2 separate regions of the Homo sapiens genome follow, and region 1 is linked to region 2. The links are contacts of gene promoters, found by promoter capture Hi-C in human tissues and cell types (Jung and others, 2019). All regions are on one chromosome and are shown on one strand. Each heading gives the region's core, a stretch centred on a gene start or on the middle of the fragment in contact. The rest is flanking DNA. Distances are from core to core; before and after follow the strand shown. Region 1 overlaps EVA1C (eva-1 homolog C). Region 2 holds the start of DONSON (DNA replication fork stabilization factor DONSON).

Region 1 (2,700 bases), core at 151-2,650, 1.1 Mb after region 2:
AAAGGGTTAAAACACATCATCCTCAACCCCTTCAATTTCTCCCTATGGGAGAAATTCCGGTACCTGGAAATCCTGAGGAATTTCAATCTCCACCCAAACCACCCCCAGCCCATCTGTATGACACCTCTCTTGGCCAATCCCTGCTCTCCCACCTGCAGGGGGCCTGTGTAAGGGAAGCTTGCTTTGAAATTGGCAGGTGTGGAGGGTAGAAGAGGGGGTGCCATTCTGACCCATCTTGACTTTCCCCTTCCTTCCACTGAGTGGACACACAGGATTTCCCACCAGCTCTGTCTGTAGTTGCTGCTTTGTGCTGGTGAAATGCCACACATGAACGTTCACAGCAGCACTATTCACAGTGGCCAAAGGAACCAGCCAAATGTCCACCAGCTGATGGCTGGATAAACAAACTGTGGGCTAGCCGTACAATGGAATATTATTCAGCCCTGAAAAGGAATGAACACATGCTACACTTGCTACAACATAGATGGATCTTGAGGACGTTATGTTAAGTGAAATGAGGCAGTCACAAGAGACTACATGTTGTGTGATCCCATCTACATGAACTATCCAGAACAGGCTAATCCATAGTGACAGAAAGCAAATTGGTGTTTTCCAGGGGCTGGAGGGAGGGAGGAATGGGGAGTGACTGCTTAACGGGCAGAGAGTTTTCTTTTGGGGTGATGAAATGTTTTGGAACTAGATAGAGGTGGTGTTTGCACAACATTGCAAATGGACTAAACGTCATTGAGAGAGTTAATTTTACATTATGTGGATTTCAACTTACTAAAAATGAATGCCAGAGTGGCAGCTGAGCCTCCTCACTCCACACCCACCCTCCTCTGCATCCTGCAGATAGGCCCTTCACCCTTATGGTCTGCAAGACTGAGAGAGACATGCCTTCTCCATACCTGTCACTGTAGGAGTTCCTGTGGGAACAGCTATGTTTCCTGAGCACTCAGGACGAGTCAGTCCCAGCACTTCCCAGCTGTGTGACGTGGGCTGGACGATACTTACCCTGGCGGCCTTCAGCTTCCTCATCTACATATGTTTATAGGGTTAGTGATGACGAAGTAAGATAATAAGATAACAGAGAGAGAGCTCTTTGGTAATAGGCATATGAAAAATGCAATCATGTTTATATTCTAAGCCCCTGGGATTACTAGGACAAAAAAGAAAAAAAACATGTTTTCTTATTTGATGCCACAGCTATAAGCCTCCTGTCTACCAGGGAGAGCCGTCTGCAGGAACCAATAATAAGTTCTCCCACTGGGGTCTGTTTTCTGAACTCTTTCTTCTGCTCCTCCACCCAGCCCTCCCCAAGTGGGGTAGGACCCTGTTTTTGGAGAGATTTGGGAGCCAGCTCCACTTGATCCTGGCCCACAGCACTGTTAGGTACCCTGGTTGATGGCTATTACCACCAGGGGCTCTGCTGTTTTAAACTCTAAACCAGGAGTCAGCAAACTTTTTTCTATAGAGGGCAAGAAAGTAAATATTTTAGGTTTTGCAAACCATACTTTATTTACAAAAACAGGTTACAGGCCAGCTCCATCCTGCTGTCTGTTTTTGTACAGCCTTTGAGTTAAGAATGTTTTTTTACATTTTTATTTATTTACTTTTATTTAAATTTTTTTTAATTAAATAGAGGTAGGGTCTTACTATGTTGCCCAGGCTAGTCTCGAACTCTTGGCCTCAGGCTTTTACATTTTTAAATGGCTGGTTTAAAAAAAAAAAAAAAAAGAAGAACGTGGAACATGTGAAAATAAAATGAAATTAAAATTCAGTGTCCAAAAAGAACGTTTTATTGGAATACAGCCAAGTTCATGCATTATGTAATATCTGTGGCTGCTTTTGAGCTGCAATGGAGAGTCGAGTAATTGTGGCAGAGAGGATTTGACCCACAATGCCTAAAATATTTATCATCTTGCTTTTTTTTTTTTGACAGTTTCTCACTCTGTCACCCAGGCTGGAGTGCAGTGGCACGACCTCAGCTCACTGCAACCTCTGCCTCCTAGGTTCAAGTGATTTCTCCTGCCTCAGCCTCCCAAGTAGCTGGGATTACAGGCGCGCACTACCACACCCAGCTAATTTTTTATTTTTTTGGTAGAGATGGGGTTTCACCGTGTTGGCTAGGCTGGTCTCGAACTCCTGACCTCAAGTGATCCACCTGCCTTGGCCTCCCAAAGTGCTGGGATTACAGGCATGAGCCACTGTGCCCAGCCTATCATCTTGCCTTTTAAGAAAAAGTTTGCTAACCGTTGGTCTAAACAAGTCAGTGGTTAAAATCACTCATGAGCTCATGTTTGCTGAGTATCTGTGTAACTGTTTTACGTGTATATATAGGAATCTTCTGTTTAGTCATCTGTAAAATGGGGGTAATAGTACCAGCTCATGACATTGTGAGGATTGAATGACTCAGAACATGAAAAGCAGTTAGAATAGCGCCTGGCATTATAAGCGCTCAACAAATGTAAATTCTAATTATGTATAACTTATTAATGTATAGACACAAATTCAAAGAAATACAGAAAACAAAGACTCTTCCCTCCTCATTTATTTTGGAATGTGCTAGAAACAGCTTGAAACATCCCTTTAATAGCTTCCTGGCCTCACGAGTGTTGAATGACATGACGAATTCTCCTTCATAGAAGGTACAGGTGAACCAGAACTGGAGGGGCATTTGGGATCCTTCCTTCTTCAGAA
Region 2 (2,700 bases), core at 180-2,679:
CCGGGAGCCGGAGGTTGCAGTGAGCTGAGATCGTGCCACTGCACTCCAGCCTGGATGAGAGAGCCAGACTCTGTCTCAAAAAATTAATTAATACACTAATAGATTTGAGCACTAGCATTTGTCATATACCACCCTGTTTGTTCTACTTATCTTTAACTAGACCTGACATTTCTAATTTCATTCCTTCTCAGACCTCAGTTGGATGAACCCATTCCACTGTATGAGGCAAAAGTTTCCATGGAAGCTGTTCAGAAAAATCAAGGAAGAAAAAAGCAAGTTGTTCAATTTTAATTTTCTTCTTTCTCAGACCTCAGTCGGATGAACATATTCCAGTATTTGAAGCCAGAATTTTCTTTGGAAATTGTTGAGAAAAACCAAGGAAGATAAAACAAGTTGCATTTTTAAGCACGTTTCTCTGCTAAGACAAGATGCTCAGTTGACACATTTGAAAAGTGTTTGAAAAATTCTTGTGCAAATGATCAAGATAATTCTATAATTAACATCTTAAGGGAATTTTTCTAAAAACCTTTTCATTGTTTCTATATATTTTGCCCCTGCTATAAAATTCCTTCCATGAAGAAAACTGCTGCTTTCAGCAAAAGTCACACTACTCTTGATAAAAGCTGTTGCAGGCCTTTGCTAAGCTATCAAAGTAACGTATTAATTTTGTATCAACTCCGTTCTCAACACCTTCCTTAAGTCTTTGCTGTCATAATTTAAGCATTTGAGTATATTTTGAAGTCTTAAAAGACTTAGCCCATAGGCACTTAAATTTTGTGTTTTCAACTATTCATTCACTCCGGCTTTCCCCAGGATCAAAGAAGATCCCATTAACTTGCCAGTGGCAGCTGCCTGGAAGTCTGAGATGACCAGGCACTGGGAACGGGGAAGGGAGGGATGTCGGTAGGCTGCGCTGGCATAGGAAGCGTGCTGACGTCTTATCTGAGTTCTCTGGGGGTTGAGGAAGGTGGCCTAGTCCCCTCTCCTCGCCTCTTGAGAGCAGTAGCCACTGCCCTCTCTTAAGTTTATGGAAGCAGCAGCCCATCGCCGCAGCTCAAGTTTGTTTCCTTTTCATCCAGGCGCCAAACCCCGGGCTGATCACATCCCTGCTGCGGGCTTAAATAGAGTTAAGCTATTTCGGTGCCCCACAGGGTAGTGCACATCAGCGCCCTGGATCGCATACTTTCCAGAAGCGTCGCTGAACCTGGCGACTGGACTCTGGCCGAGGACCTGGCAGAAGCGCCAGGGCAGGGTCACCGCTGGGACAGTGGGCGTTGACGGCCACCCGGGATCGCCGCTGCGGGCTGCGTCTCGCGGGCTGCCCACTGCGCATGCTCCGCTCGGAACCGGCGGGGGCGGAGGCGGGGCCGCGTCGGGGGCGGGAGCTCGGCGAGGCGCCACGTCAGGGGCGGGCCCGGCGCGCGCGGGAAGTCTCTGTAGGGCGGCCGGCTACCCTCAGCCGCCGCGCGTCATGGCCCTTTCGGTGCCCGGCTACTCACCGGGCTTCCGAAAGCCGCCCGAGGTAGTGCGGCTCCGACGGAAAAGGGCCCGGAGCCGTGGAGCTGCCGCCTCCCCGCCCCGTGAGCTGACGGAGCCGGCGGCCCGCCGAGCCGCCCTGGTGGCGGGGCTGCCTCTTCGCCCTTTCCCTGCTGCGGGGGGCAGAGGCGGTGGCAGCGGCGGCGGCCCGGCCGCTGCTCGGAGGAACCCCTTCGCCCGCCTGGACAACCGACCGCGGGTCGCCGCGGAGCCCCCCGACGGGCCGGCCCGCGAGCAGCCGGAGGCCCCGGTCCCGGTGAGTGTCTTGTAGCCTGGCCGCCAAGGGGCTCTTGTCTTTCGTGGGTTGAGCCAGCTGTGAATGGGGGATGGAAAGTCCTCGCGTTCGAGGCAAGGAAATGGGCGCGAAGACTTCGGCCGCCCGTGGCCTTAGGGTACCCCGCCCTGGGAGCCGCGATTCTGGCAAGGCCGGGTTTGTGGGAAGAGCGCTCCCCTGGCTACCCCGCTGCGGGCTGTGCTCACGGGACGCGTTCCCGAGGAAAGTGAGGGGGCCCCAGAGGGCAGCGAGGAGCCCCTTGGAGAGGACTTAGAGGTGACTTGGAAAAGAGCTCGAAAAACCCTGAGAGCCCCCATCTTGCAAGGACGCTGTTCGATGGGGCAGGTGACAAGCCCTGCTTCCCCCGTGATTTAGGGCCTCCCTTCTCTCACGCACTCCAAATTATTCTGGAGATGGGGGAATGTCGAGGATTCGTGGGGTCAGAATTCACTAGCATCTGTCTTACCCAAAGCCTTTTGGATCTTTCGGTTTGAAACGCCGGTCCCTGTTCCCCTCAATTTTGATACTAAAGTTCAGACACAAAACTGAAGTGTTGAAACTCATAGATTGGATGGGGTGCCTCTGAATTTAGGTGTACTTGCGTTTATTGAGAAACATGTATGCCAGGTGAGGCTCTGTACATATTTAACGCAAACTTCAGCATCCTTTAAATTTTAAAGGAGAATATATTTAACCTCAGTTTTTAGATTCTAATCAAGAAAATGATTTGCTATGGGAAGAGAAGTTTCCTGAAAGAACAACTGTTACTGAATTACCTCAGGTAATACTTTTTAAATATCATTAGAATGTGTATTTGTATAAACTTTTTTTTCATAGGATTTGAGCCTATTTTTAAAAATACATTTATACTTCTCAGAAGCATTTTGCTT

Evidence for each region. Contacts are between HindIII fragments. The study calls those that stand out against the background at their distance.
Region 1: a fragment that was not itself captured here is called in contact with the fragment with the promoter of DONSON in region 2 in 1 of the 25 tissues and cell types used here (dorsolateral prefrontal cortex).

Annotation. Positions count from the first base shown.
Region 1 is chr21:32,515,221-32,517,920 of GRCh38, reverse strand. EVA1C (eva-1 homolog C) reads right to left here. Exons shown (of 8, transcript NM_058187.5): 8 at 2,534-2,700. Among named protein-coding and RNA genes, the nearest start is that of TCP10L, 69 kb to the left of the region's middle. The HindIII fragment of the contact is 5,464 bases long and covers 1-2,700 here.
Region 2 is chr21:33,587,413-33,590,112 of GRCh38, reverse strand. It overlaps DONSON (DNA replication fork stabilization factor DONSON), which reads left to right and starts at 1,429. Exons shown (of 10, transcript NM_017613.4): 1 at 1,429-1,792; 2 at 2,511-2,591. The coding sequence starts at 1,472. CRYZL1 (crystallin zeta like 1) reads left to right here. Exons shown (of 13, transcript NM_145858.3): 13 at 192-772. The coding sequence ends at 291. RefSeq lists an enhancer at 1,241-1,740 and a silencer at 1,199-1,888. The HindIII fragment of the contact is 19,336 bases long and covers 1-2,700 here.